Linked DNA regions of Homo sapiens: region 2 is linked to region 1. Evidence: promoter capture Hi-C in 16 types of primary human blood cells and fetal thymus (Javierre and others, 2016). All regions are on one chromosome and are shown on one strand. The core of a region is centred on a gene start or on the middle of the fragment in contact, and the rest is flanking DNA. Distances in the headings are between cores, read along the strand shown. Region 1 holds the start of APOBEC4 (apolipoprotein B mRNA editing enzyme catalytic polypeptide like 4). Region 2 has its middle 170 kb from the start of C1orf21-DT.

Evidence for each region. Contacts are between HindIII fragments. The CHiCAGO score rates a contact against its expected background, and 5 or more counts as called.
Region 2: a contact is called between a fragment that was not itself captured here and the fragment with the promoter of APOBEC4 in region 1, in 5 of 17 cell types (total CD4 T cells, naive CD8 T cells, non-activated CD4 T cells and 2 more). The highest score is 8.6, in total CD4 T cells.

Annotation. Positions count from the first base shown.
Region 1 is chr1:183,649,457-183,656,325 of GRCh38, reverse strand. APOBEC4 (apolipoprotein B mRNA editing enzyme catalytic polypeptide like 4) reads left to right here and starts at 3,010. Exons shown (of 2, transcript NM_203454.3): 1 at 3,010-3,254. It also overlaps a transcript of RGL1 not described here. The HindIII fragment of the contact is 5,397 bases long and covers 2,218-6,869 here.
Region 2 is chr1:184,217,821-184,224,689 of GRCh38, reverse strand. No RefSeq gene overlaps it. Among named protein-coding and RNA genes, the nearest start is that of C1orf21-DT, 170 kb to the left of the region's middle. RefSeq lists an enhancer at 724-1,257. The HindIII fragment of the contact is 4,300 bases long and covers 483-4,782 here.

The DNA.
Region 1 (6,869 bases), core at 1,761-4,260:
CTCAATTTTGACACTGACCAAAACTTTAGGCATTGAGGTCACTCTGTTACCATCATAAATGTACTTATTTGGTCTCAGATCCCACGGGGAAAGAGCAGAACAGTTGGTTTTTAAGGTGGGAACATGGATTTCAGGTTACTTTTTTGTAAGAGTTAGAGAGCCAAGGGGACTTCCTTGTGCCGGAATCTCCTGTTTTCATGAGAAAAAAAAAAGAAAAGAAAAGAAAAAAAACTTGGTCTGCTTTGGGATCTATCTGTTTCCTTAAAATTTTAGTTTATGTCACATTTAGCATGAGTGACTCCATTTTGGTTTGGTCTGGTCGGCTGGGGCCTAGTGTACAAGCTTAGCCCAAAACAATGGCCTCCCATCACTGTTTAACATATGGTTTGGAAATGTCAATTGGTCCTTTCCCACAGAGAGTTGGAAGCCTTCTTTAGAGCATCTAAACAGTCTCTGGAAGTAAAGATGCTGCCTTTACCCTATACTTTTCCTCAGCTTAAGTTTTAGGAGTCATTTTTAATTCTAAACATTTGCTGCTGTTTCCCCTAGGATAATGAGGAAAATCAACATGGAGGAATTCTAAGAGAAAGTCTGTGGTGTTAGCAAATTAAGGGTGGCCCTACAGAAAGCTCTCTGCTGTTAAGACTGTGCTGCCACCTTGTGGCCATCTTGTTTATAACCCCCCGAGCTCGAAGATCCACCCTCTGCTTTTTCGTCTCCTTTTGGTCTCAACTCCAGTGCTTTTCTTATCTCATCTTTCCCATCTAACTCCTTAGTGAGCTCCATGAAATCTACTTAATCTTCTGATCTTTACTTGAAGCTTGCTTTCTAAATTCAGTTCCTTTTATCACGTAGTTTGTTACTGCTACATGAATTTGAGCATTGTTGTTCAGTGTCAACCAAACTGCTACTAAAGTGATGAATTATATAATTACTTGGGTACAGTAGGTTCAAATAAAACTTTAACATTTTAGCAATAACTTATAAATATTTTACTTCCTGCCACCCAAAGAGAAAGTTGCCTTATAAGCAGTAACTAGCAACACACAAGCCATCTTGGATATACCCCAAACTGGGTTGTCAGAACATAGATTAATAATTTTTGGAGTGCCAAACTGAGTAAATGTCTCTTAAAAATTTAGATCATTGCAGGATAGTTTAGTCTTTGTAAATCTTCTTCATTATAATCTCATAATATCTCTACATAAATAATATACATCATAACTCATCTGAATGAAGATGAAACATGGCAGATTAACAAAGGAAGACAGAAAAGAGAAGAAAGGAGTCTGTTGGGGAAGCTAGACATTTCTTCCAAGCATCTCCTTTCCAATACATGTCAATTTCACTGTGAACAGGAACCATGGTAAAGGCCTTTCATTTCCTCCTGATGAAGTTTAGTCTTAAAAGTCATTCTGTGCAACCTAAATGGAATGTTGCCAACTTAACATTCCTTGGAGTCTTCCTACATCTAACAGACAACTACCTTTAAAGAATAATGACTAATTGGGGTTGCCTATCCCTAAAATCACCCTAAAATGCAATTGATAAATGTGCTAGTGGACAAAGGCTCATTTTTCCTGTTTCTTTAGGCTTAACCTTCCATAGGTATATCATTTGCTGAGCATCTAATCCACCATGGAAGGTGCACAGTGCACATGGGATGCTGGTGCAGATTTGGGGACTATATTTTTTGTCTTTTCCTCCCCTCACTGGAACCTGTCAGACAGCTAATACTTTCTTACAGAACTGAGCAGGCCCTCAGAACTTGATTCTTCAGCTAGCGGGAGAAAAACCCCAACATGTTCTCTTCAACAGTCAGCTATTATCCTTTCACCCAGCTTTTGATAAGTAATATTTTTAAAGTAATGTTTGCAATAGATTGTCATTTATTAGGATTAAATAAAAGATGAGCTATGAGGATTGACTTTCAGTTCCATATTTACAAGTTCATTCAGTTAGAAGATGCAAGCAATGAGAAAAAAGGGATGACCCATGGCAAACTGTGGGGAAGGGACAGGATGCAGCAGTGACCATGTGCCAGAGCAAGCACCAAGGAAGATGAAACTGAAAATAACCAGCTGAGGAGTTCATGAATACACCTGAGGCCCTTAGGAGACAAAAACATCTCGTCTAGTAGGAGCACTCTGGATGAGAAAGGATGTGTGCTGTGGTGCAGACTGGAAGTCTGACAGTGGAAACAGGCGTGGCGAAGCTTCGAGAAGACAGAAGGTGCCCTCTGGGTGCTCAGTATCCCTGAGTTATTTTTAGAGTATGTCTGCTTACAGCCAATAGTTATTACTGGAATGTACACAATAGCAATCCCCACTCACTCCTTCAGGTGGCCTGGGAAAGGGGAATGAGGGAATAATCCAGAGTGATTGACAGTGAATTGTGACTATCAATGTGCCTTGTGTCTAGGAGATGATGTGGGGGTCAAGGGAGACTAAGGAAAAGAATGGAGAAGGACAAGTGGCTCTTCCGTTAGCCACAGAGAAGGGGCTACAACCGATCCTGGAACAAATCTTGTCTTAAACTGGAGGGAACCACATACATACCAATAGCAAGAGTCTTCCAGGCAATTTCTAAGAGGAGGGAAACCGCTAACACATAGCCTAGGTTTAGACAGAATCAAAAACACCCCCTTCAGGGACTATGGGCCTCTTGGAGGAAGTCAACTCTCTGCTCCCTCTCACAGAGGGCAAGCCTCCCAAGGAGAAGCCCTGGCACCCACGCAGGCAACAGAACCGCCAGGCCTGGCACCTACTCTAGACCAGGAGAAAGGTGCTGAGGAGCAGGCCCTCAGAACTTGATTCTTCAGCTAGCAGGAGAAAAACTGCAACATGTTCTCTTCAACAGTCAGCTATTATCCTTTTACCCAGACTGGGATATGCAGTCCTGTATATTTTCATCTTTGGAACAGGTGGCTTGATATGCAAATAAAGTAATAAGTGTCAGAGCTGTATCCTAGCAGTAGCTACTTTGCAAACGTTACCATGGCACCCAATCAACAGTGTTCTTAGAGGTAGCCACACCTCAGCAAGGGCTTTCTAACTTGGAACAGCAAAGTTCAAATGAACGAATAGACACAAACTGTGAAAGAGTCCTGAACCCATTACAAGGTGAATCTTTACAGCACAATTGCCTTCTGAAGCTACTTGAAACAGGGCATGGGACTTAAAGGAGAAAAAAAAGGAAATGGACCATCTCTTCTAACACCTGGAATGTGATCCAAGCCTGGAGACAAATTGATGGTAATTATAACTGCTAACATTTGTTTTTAGCTGCTAACAGATTGTGCACAGATTGTGAAGGGCAAACTCCATTCTCCAATTACTCCAGTGCAAACTGTGCTTTAACAGTACTCACTAAATCCTAGTTGAGTGAAATGAGAGCAGATTGTCCTTATGGTGTGGTTCATTTATGTTAAACTATGGAAAGCTGTCCTCCCACGGTCCCAGTCCAGGGGCCACTCACAGCCAGATGCAGAGAGCCCTCCAGCACGCTGGGCTCTACACATCTCTGTTCTTACTGCCAGCAAATCTGCTCTACAGAGTATAACATGTATTTCCCAAGCACAGACAAAGCAAAAGGAAAAGGGCTAGGCAGGAAGTAGGGACACCAGCTGCTGGGGAAACAAGTCTTAAGCAACCTGGCTTGTGAGCCAATCAAGGTTGCTAAGGTAGGTCCTGGGCCTAAACAGGGTACATTTCCACCTGGTTGGGGAGAATAAAATGACAGATACCAAAAGTTAACAAGATAATCTGTGGTCGATAACAAATTGATACAATAAACCATGAATTCTCTAAGAGTTCAAAGAGGGCAACAGTTCTTTCCTGCTTCCTCTTCAGATGAGGGTGATCAAAGAACAAGCCCAGAAAGACTCTGAAAAAGTGAAAACTTCACCAATAGGAAACTATAGTTGGTTGACACTGAAAAGTTGTCAGCAAGAATGAGACTACAGAGCTCCCTCCACTATGTGTTAAAGCCACAGTCCTCTCCATCTCCTTAAAGACAGTAATGATGTATCATTTCTGGCTAAAACAGCCACAGAAGATGGGGGTGCAAAGGAAGGCGTGCTTAGAAAAGCAATAGGGAGTTTCCATTTTGCTACCTTTATCTAAAAACACACAAAGACTTTTGTTTCCCAAAAGGGTAATTATGGGACCATTATATATAGTTAACTCCACATACACATCACCTTAAGAAATAGTAATAAAGACAGAAAAGTGCCTTTTGGTTCTGTTTCCATAACATTTAGCCAAATCAATCTGTAAATTGTCTATGGGTGAGTTGAAATTGTAATCTGAGCAGTAACCTGGATGTCCGGTGTACCACCCATAAGTCGACCACATCAAGGGCACAATATTAAAAAGCATGAAAGTTTGGGCTTGGTTTTGGCAAGTTCTGATGGAGAGATCCATCCAGCCTGATGAAGGCTAAGCAAGGAGGAGGTCCAGAGAGGAAACAATGCTCGGGAGTAAGCAGGAAATGGCGTCAGGTTCCAAGAGATCGTCCACTGCCAAGGGTTAAATCCAGCTCTCTAGAAGGAAAGCTATGACAAGGTCTAGGAAGCCTCAAGGCAGGAATTCAGTTACATCAGGAAAATATAGTACTAAGGAAAAAACAAAGCTAATGTCCAATCCTATGGATTAAGATGACACAGCAGAGGCTAGGAGAAATCTAGAATCTGGTGGGTATGTGGTGCCAGAGTTACTGCAGGATATTAGCCACTAAGATAATGGTGACATGAATAAAGCTACATTCCACCTACAGCTGGATTGAGGCTTTTAACATATTTTCTGCCCAGGATAGGATTAGCATAGGAACTCTGCAGGTTTCAGGCTAGAGATCAAGCTGTATCAAATACAGCAATGAATGAGCTGATGTGGGCTGAGGAAGACAGAAGGTGAACATAGCACTTCCATATGAGAGGCCATAATTTATTTATTAGCACAAGTATTCATACTTGTGATATGATAAGTGAGATTTTGAAAAGTGAAAAATATATTCTGTTGCAATGGTCAGTTTACCTCATTTAAATTTTCTGCCTTATCAGTTTTGTTATCTGACAAAGTTAAATGTAAAAAATGAAACCATAAATACTAGAAGAAAATATGGGGAATACTTAATTATGCTTTGATGAGGAAGGCATTTCTAAATACAATAAGAAAAAAAATCACAGGAGTAGAGACTGGACCACATAAAAATGTAAAATTTGGTGCAATTAAAATAACATTGGCATAATTAAAAGGCTGTATAAACCAGGTAAAATATTAGCAGCAAATGTGGCAGATTTAATATTCTTGATGCATAAAAATGTCTTGCAAACCAATAAGGAAAACTTCACGCAAAAAATAGGTAAAAAATCAAATATATTTCACAGAAGAATAAATACCACAGACCAATAAGCATGTCAAAAAGTGTTCAACTTCACTAGAAATAATAAAGGCACACATTATAGCAACAAAAAAATACCAATGCTCCCTTCTCAAATTGGGATAAACAACATTGTAAGAGAATGTGATAAGATTGGTACACCTTCCTAGGAAGCGATTTGACAATGTTTGACCTAATACTATGATTTCTAGTAATCTATTCTAAAAAAAAAAAAAAATCTGATTCTTTATAATAAATATTATATAATATATGCAATAGATAATTTCTCACAGAAATATTTATCAAAGTGTTATAATAATTAAAAGAGGCAAGAAACTGAATGTTACAGTTACATAATAAAAAACTAATTAGCCATGAATATTGTGTTTTTTGTTTTTCGTTTTGAGACAGAGTCTCGCTCTGTCACCCAGGCTGGAGTGCAGTGGTGGGATGTTGGCTCACTGCAAGCTCTGCCTCCTGGGTTCACGCTATTCTCCTGCCTCAGCCTCCCGAGTAACTGGGACTACAGGCGCATGCCACCACACCTGGCTAATTTTTTACATTTTTAGTAGAGACGGGGTTTCACCATGTTAGCCAGGATTGTCTCCATCTCCTGACCTCATGATCCGCCCACCCTGGCCTCCCAAAGTGCTGGGATTATAGGCGTGAGCCACCACGCCTGGCCGAATATTATTTTTAATAACATGGGAAAATGCTCATGGCACAATATTAAGTGAAAAAGCAGGGTATAAAACATGACTTTGTTTATATTATATGTAACATACACATATAGCAAAAAGACTGGAGGGAATAGACATGTTAATAGTGACGGAAGGCTGGACATGGTGGTTCACACCTGTAATCCCAGCACTTTGGGAGGCCAAGGTAGGAGGATCACTTGAGCCCAGGAGTTCGAGATCAGTGTGGGCAACATAGGGAGACTGTATCCCTCCTAAAAAATAAAAAAATTATCTGGGCATGGTGGTACATACCTGTGGTCTCAGCTATTTGGGAGGCTGAGGCAGGAGGATCACTTGAGCCCGGAAGGTTGGGGCCACAGTGAGCCATGATCATCTCACTGCACTGCAATCTGAGCAACAGAGCAAGACTGTCTCAAAAACAAACAAAATAGGTAGCTCCTAGAGCATTATAGGAACAACGATAACTGAAGGAATATTTTTTAAAGGAAAAAATCATTACTTAAAGATCTCAGCTTTTTGAGTTTAACATCCCAGAAACTACTAATTTGAAATATTCTAAAGAACCATATTTGCTTTCTGTAACAGTAATTTTTCAAAAGTCTTCTAACAAGACCCACTCACGGGAAAGAAAACTCTTACATGTCAATGAATGAGTGTCCACAATCCAAAGAATACTCAAGTGGCACTTTCCTAAGAAGTCTCTATCATTAAGCAAAAGAGATCCCATGATCCTAGTCTCAAAAAAAACCCAAAAACCTCCAAATTATTTCCAGTGATTTTAAGAAAGTT
Region 2 (6,869 bases), core at 1,383-3,882, 570 kb before region 1:
CTGTGGGCACTTCTGTCCTCAACACTGGAGATGTTGCGAGTGAGAAGACACAATGCCTGCATTCAAAGAGCTTATGATCCACTCAAGAAGTCAGACAAGAGATAAACAATCTTAGCACAGGGTGTTACATGATCTGGAGAAGTAAGCCCAGGGTGCTGTGGGAGACAGAAGGGGAATCTGGGTGCAGCTGGAGGAAGCCTTCTGCCTAAAGATGGCTGATCAGCTCCTTCTGGGTAAAGAGGGTGGTCAGTTCTGTGTGGTTAACTTCTCTCTCTCCTTCCTGACAGAGAGGAGGCAGAGACCTGGGGGAAAGAGAATTGATTACAATCAGTGATTGTAATGGAAGAAAATTCTGCAAAAAAAACCCATGGTGATGTAGAAAGGGGAGAACTGCCTTCAGACAAGATGTTTTTAACGAATCTATGGAAGAAAAAAAGGTGGATGGAGGAGCAGTGCTGGGGAAGCAGGATGAAGCTGAAGCTTCCCAGACGGCCAGAAGGTGGGTGGAGAGAGAGGGAAGGAGGGGAGGCTAAGACTGAGAAGAGAGGCTCAGAAAGGCTCTGACGCTGGAACTCAAGCCTAGCAGAATTGAGAGCTGGAGTAGGATAGGCCAGAGAACACAAGAGGAGTCATTGAAAACCTTTGAGAAAAACTCTCGATGGGACCACCCACCCATGCCAGTGTATTCAGCAGTTAAGTGTCCATCTCCAAAATAAATCAGGTGTCCTTCAAAGCACTGAGTGGCCCCAGAGAGCAGACCTGCACCTTCTGGCACTTAGAAGTCCTTCTGAGTAGAGCAGGCTTTCTACTCCATCACCCTAATGCCATGGTTCTCCGCAGTGAGTGATTTTGCCCCCCCAGGACATTTGGGAGTGAGTAGAGAAGACATTTTTGGTTGTCTGTGAGGACAACAAACTTGGGGAAGGTGCTACTGGCACGTGGAGGGTAGAGGCCAGAGGTGCTGCGAAACATACTACACCGTGGAGGAGAGACTCAGACAACAAAGAATTATTTAGCCTCAAATGTCAATAATAAGAAACTCTAACATAAAGTTCTCCAGTTTACAAACCCCACCCCCACAAACTCCAAACAGTACTCCACAGCCATTTCAGCATTGTCACGTTTCAGTCATCAAGGATCTACTTAACCAAGTGCCTGGCCCCGCTGGATGCTGTAAGACGGGGGTCCCTAACCCCCAGGGCCACGGACTGGTATCTGTTAGGAACCGGGCTGCACAGCAGGAGGTGAGTGTGGGCCAGCCAGCATCACCACCTGAGCTCCGCCTCCTGTCAGATCAGCGGCAGCATTAGGCTCTCATAGGAGCATGAACCACACTGTGAACTGCGCATGCGAGGGATCTCGGTGGCTAAGATTCTGAACCATTCTACAGCGTAACACTGATGCTGTAGATTAATGGCAGGCTCTTTATGAGAATCTAATGCCTGGAAATCTGTCACTGTCTCCTACCACCCCTAGATGGGACCTTCTAGTTGCAGGAAAACAAGCCAGGGGCTCCCACTGATTCTACATTACAGTGAGTTATATAATTATTTCATTACATATTACAATGTGATAACAACAGAAATAAAGCACACGATAAATGTAATGGGCTTGAATCATCCCGAAACCATCCCCACACCCCGCTGGTCCATGGAAAAATTGCCTTCCATGAAACCGGTCCCTGGTGCCAAAAAGGTTGGAGACCACTACTGTAAGAGATGCTTTACGGCAGATCCATGACATGGTCACTGGGGACATGGAAAGAGAAAGGGTGTTTCCGTGTTGCTTTGAAAAACTCTGAGGCAATGCAACCAAAATTTTAAAAAGAAGAAAAAGAAAGCGTCTGAATTAGGAAAGAGCAAACAGCTTCGGTACATGCTACTGGGAAAAACGGCTTTTCAGGGTTGACCGCAGTACCTATCGATGGCCAGCAGAGGGCAGATGGGGCAAAAGAGCAGGAGAAAGGGAATTTCTGCCCTTCAGGGAGGCAATTCCAGTAAGAATACATGATTGTAAGTCAAGAGTCAACTGGAATTAAAAGCAGGAAATAGAGAAGGCAGTAGCTCACTGACTCCAAGACAATGCAGGTTTCACACAGTTGGGAGTCGAGGCCACAGAAGAACTAGGGAACCCAGGGCACCAAGGCTGAGGGGTAAGGGGCCAGAGTGGGCATGGGGCTTGGGTGGGAGAGCCCGATCCATTGCCAGGTGCTGTGCTCACCATACACAGGGGGAATAGGCCTCTGAAACACCTTCAGTGTTTGCCTCTGCCTCCTCTCAGCCTCCGCTTTGCTTTTTATAGGCCCAGTGCCTGGTATGACAATCAGAGGAAGCTGAAAAGCCTACCTGCAGGCCATGCAATGATGTGGGTGGATTTGGAAGAGGTGGATTCTGCTGGTGGGAAAGATGAAACCTGGCTTTGGTTGGTAGCAGGCTATTCTATATGTGAGTTTCTGCCCAACAGTTCCATGGTCGCCCTGCAAACCCAGCATCACACTGTAGTGTGTTTTGATCGCATAAACCTCCTTGAAAAGTCATTCTATAAGCACTTCTTGTTTTGTAAAAATAAAGTGTATTAGGGTTCTCTAGAGGGACAGAACTAATAGGATAGATGTATATATAAAGGAAAGTTTATTAAGGAGAATTGACTTACATGATCACAAGGTAAAGTCCCACAATAGGCCATCTGCAAGCTGAGGAGCAAAGAAGCCAATTTGAGTCCCAAAACCTCAAAGGTAGGGAAGCTGACAGTGCAGCCTTCAGTCTGTGGCCGAAGGCCTGAGAGTCCCTGGCAAACCACTGGTGTAAGTCCAAGAGTCCAAAAGCTGAAGAACTTGAGTTTGATGTTTGAGAGCAGGAAGCATCCAGCACGGGAGAAAGAAGATGGGCGGAAAACTCAGCAAGTCTGCTTCATTCTAGCCATGCTGGCAGCTGATTAGATGGTGCCCACCCACATTGAGGGTGGGTCTGTCTCTCCTAGTCCACCGACTCAAACGTTAATCTCCTTTGGCAACACCCTCACAGACACACCCAGGAACAATACTTTGCATCCTTCAATCCAATCAAGTTGACACTTAATATTAACCATCAAAGAAGAGTTAAGACATCTCTAGGGGAGTTTTCAGGGAATACCTGGAAATATTCTGGTGTCCAATAAAGGTAAAATTCTCATCAGAATCAACACACAGGGTATCTTCCCAAGCTCATTTTTATCATCACTGATGATAGTTACTCATTCTCCAAGTTTATTTCATGAATGTTTAGAATCAAGTCTAAACATCTCAGAAATCTCATTTATTAATAATGTATATCTAGCCGAGTGAGCAATGAGGAAAAGGTTTAATGTCCAAGATTTGGGGCTGGAGATAATATAACCTCTACCATGCTTACAGAATATAAAATGCTGGCCTAGTCTAGAAACCCAATCAAATGGCAACACAAAATGCAGACTACAAGTGTGGAATATTCTGATTTATTTGCTGTTTTAAAAAACCCTTTTTGCCTGATACCTATCAAAACCAAAAATAATCCTCTCACACAAGATAAGCGGGGATAGGAACTACACATTATTTAGGAGCTGGGCATTGTTGTAAGTACTTATTTGTTCTGGCATTTAATCCTCAGAACAGCCAACTGAATTAGTATTATTATGCCATTTTATAGATGAAGAAACCAATGTTCTAAGACATCACTGTAATAATCGAACAAGTTTTGTTGTTGTTGTTGTTGTTTTTAAGTGTCTTCTGTATCAGGAACTGAGCCATATTCTGGAGAAAAACAGAAACAATGACAGTGTCTCCCCCGTCTGCGGGATGTAGATATGTACACTGACAATTACATACTACAAATACTGTAATGGAAGTGGGAACACCTGGAATCTGCCTGGGTCAGGGACAATTTCATAGCGAGGTGACTCCAGCTGATTCCTAAAAGAATAGAGATTTTCCACTTTTCCCGTCTACTTGATGCTGTGATCTTATACTGTTGCAAAGTGATATCTCCAATTTCCATGGAAACTCCCTGCAGGCTAATTAGAATCCAGTTTATAAATTTAAAATAGGTAGAGTTTGATATTCTCTGATGCACACCGGTGTCTACTTCCTGCTGGCAGAGTTCTGTGGCCTTTTTGGGGATCCTTGGGATGGGACAAGGCTGATAAAATAACTTACCAGCTGGAGGTCACCACTCTTATCTAGCAATGGCATTCAATTGCTAGATAAGACACAAGTTGATAAGACTCAATTGACCCATGTGGCCCACCTGAAACGCCACATGGGGCAATTGAACCACCCGTCTCTTCCACCTGCCCTAAACTGCTACTACTTTTGGGGCTAAAGTGCCCTCTGCCCTTCACTGGTGGTTCTCAGAGCAGCTCTGGCCAGCTCGCCAGTGGCCCTGCCTGAGAATCCTCAGTGGAGTTCCATGTCTAGAGGAAGTCAAGGAAAAGAGGCCCACATTAGTGGAGAATTGCGCTCGTCTGTGATTGGTGGAGCCTCTCTAAGATTTTTCCAGCGTCAATATTCCCTTTCAAACATCATTAAAGCTAAAAGGAAAAGTCAGCACTAGATGTGAGGAAGCAGATTGGAGTCCTGTGTGTTATATGGCGACAACTGCCTCCATCGCAGGGCTGACTCACCGTCGTGTTATTGACCGGAAGAATATTTATTATCACAGGTCAAAGAATGAAGCATACTTCTCTCATTTCACTCAATTAATTTGTATAAAATGTTAGTTCATAATATGTGCTGTAATTTTCTTTAAAAACTTTTTTTTAAGTCAAGCTTTGTCAGCTATAAGAAGTGATGGACAGCAGCTAGGTGCTTAAGGCAGCCTGTGGGTTCTGGCTCAAAAGAAATAAGAAAAAGCCAAGACCCCCTTGACTTGCCTGGAGACCTTACAGAATATTAACATGGAGGGTTCATAACAGGCAATATAGTTCATTTTAATTAGGATCCCACAACCCTAGAAATTAAGTTACAGAAGATCTATTAGGTCATCTGGCCTATCGCTTTCCCTATCCCCTGTGCAATGCAGGATTGTTCCCTGGGGTCTGCTCACAAATGCATGGTTCAGTCTACATTTAAATGACTGCAACTATGAGGCTTACGTCATCCCCCTTGGGGATGACTATTACGTAGTCTAATGGATTTCACCATGATTATTTTTCCCTCCAGAGATTCTGCCCAAATTTCTCTTTGCTTGAATTTGTCTCATTTTTCCTCATTATATACCTTCAGGTTCAGAAAAATCACAAAAATGACAGTGAGAATGACCAAGTCTCTATTTCTTACTCTTTAGCAATAAAGATGGAAGTCGCCCCAGTGGGCTTTCTCAGTTTCACATTTTGTAGGTAAGCTGGAACACTGCTAACCCTTCTTACTCTTAGAAGACACTCACCATTCCTCTTAAAGGAATCCACAAAAATCACCAGCGTGGGGGCAGGTTTGAGTTTCAGTGGTGGTGGTCCATTTGACACGATTCACTCCTCCCTGCCTTGTCTGATCAACCATGTAACCAATGATATATTTGCCAAGATTTGTGATGCTCTCTGTGTCAGCAGAACAGAGGAAATCATTCTGGCTTTTGGGGGATGGTACCTATGACTTTACAATCATTGGCACCATTTAAGCTACCAGCCAAGCCACCCACTCCCTATTACATTTCTCAATGACACTCAAGGAATCTTACAACTTCAAGTTGACTAGGCGAAGAGATTTGGATCTTCTTTATGTCATCAATTTCACATATGTGCATACACGTGTACAGAGAGAAGCAGCAGCACCAGGAGAAGGAAACAAAGGAGAAATAGCAGCAGGGCTGCAAAAGAAAACACATCCCACATTCACAATCCCCTATTTATAAAGGATAATTGAGTCCCATGCATGGTGAGACTGTGACTCATTAGAACTCCTTAATTAAAGAGGAAAGCCTCCCTGGTGATTTTATTTCCTTGGGTTTGTTTTTGGTTGTTATTGCTAAGTATGAGAAAGACAGCAATGCCCTGCTTGGAGAGAGGATCATTCTTCTGAGCAGGACACGAAGCTGGAAAATGAATTCACTAATGAATTCAGAGCACAGCCAGGGCTGAATTGCAACTCCTTGCTATCCCACTAGCAATCGTCCCTAAGCACAATTACCCTGAATCATTACACTGGATGGCAACTCAGGCTGAGTGAGATGGTTGGAAAGGAAAGTGTGATTTAATGACAGAAAGGGCACAGCGTACATGTGGCCACACCTCTATTTCCAAGGACAGGTCCATTCATTCTTTTATTCTTTCCGTCTACTCTTCTGGGGCCAGGCACTGTGCTAAGTACTAGGAATAGTTGTCCAGGGCTGTTGAAAGAGGGTGGCAGGCCATACATCAAAACTTTAACAGCATATAGTTATAATTTCATCTTTCTTTGTATTGGAAGTAAAGGACAATTTAGAATCTTTTAAAATGGATTACAAAATTCTGTAAATACGTACAGCGTGAGAGAAAATAACATAATTAAACACTTGTCTGCCCACCATCTAACTTTATTGAATCTTAACATTTTGACATATTTGCTTTAGATTTTGTAAAATAATAAAACACTATAAAGTAATTGAAGCCTCCTACGTGCTCCTCCTCTAAGCCACCCTACAGGTAACCATCATGTTAAATTTCATGTTTACCATTCCTATTCATGCTTTATACTACTCTTCACATATGTGTCTTATGTGTGAATCCATAAATAACAAATAGGCTGTTTTATATGCTTTCAAACTTTATACAAAAGGTGTCCTATTGTACCTATTTTTCTGTAATTTGGTTTTTTAAAATTCATTATTTTTGAGATTTACCCATGTTAATGATACATGTAATCCTAGTTCATTCATTTCAGT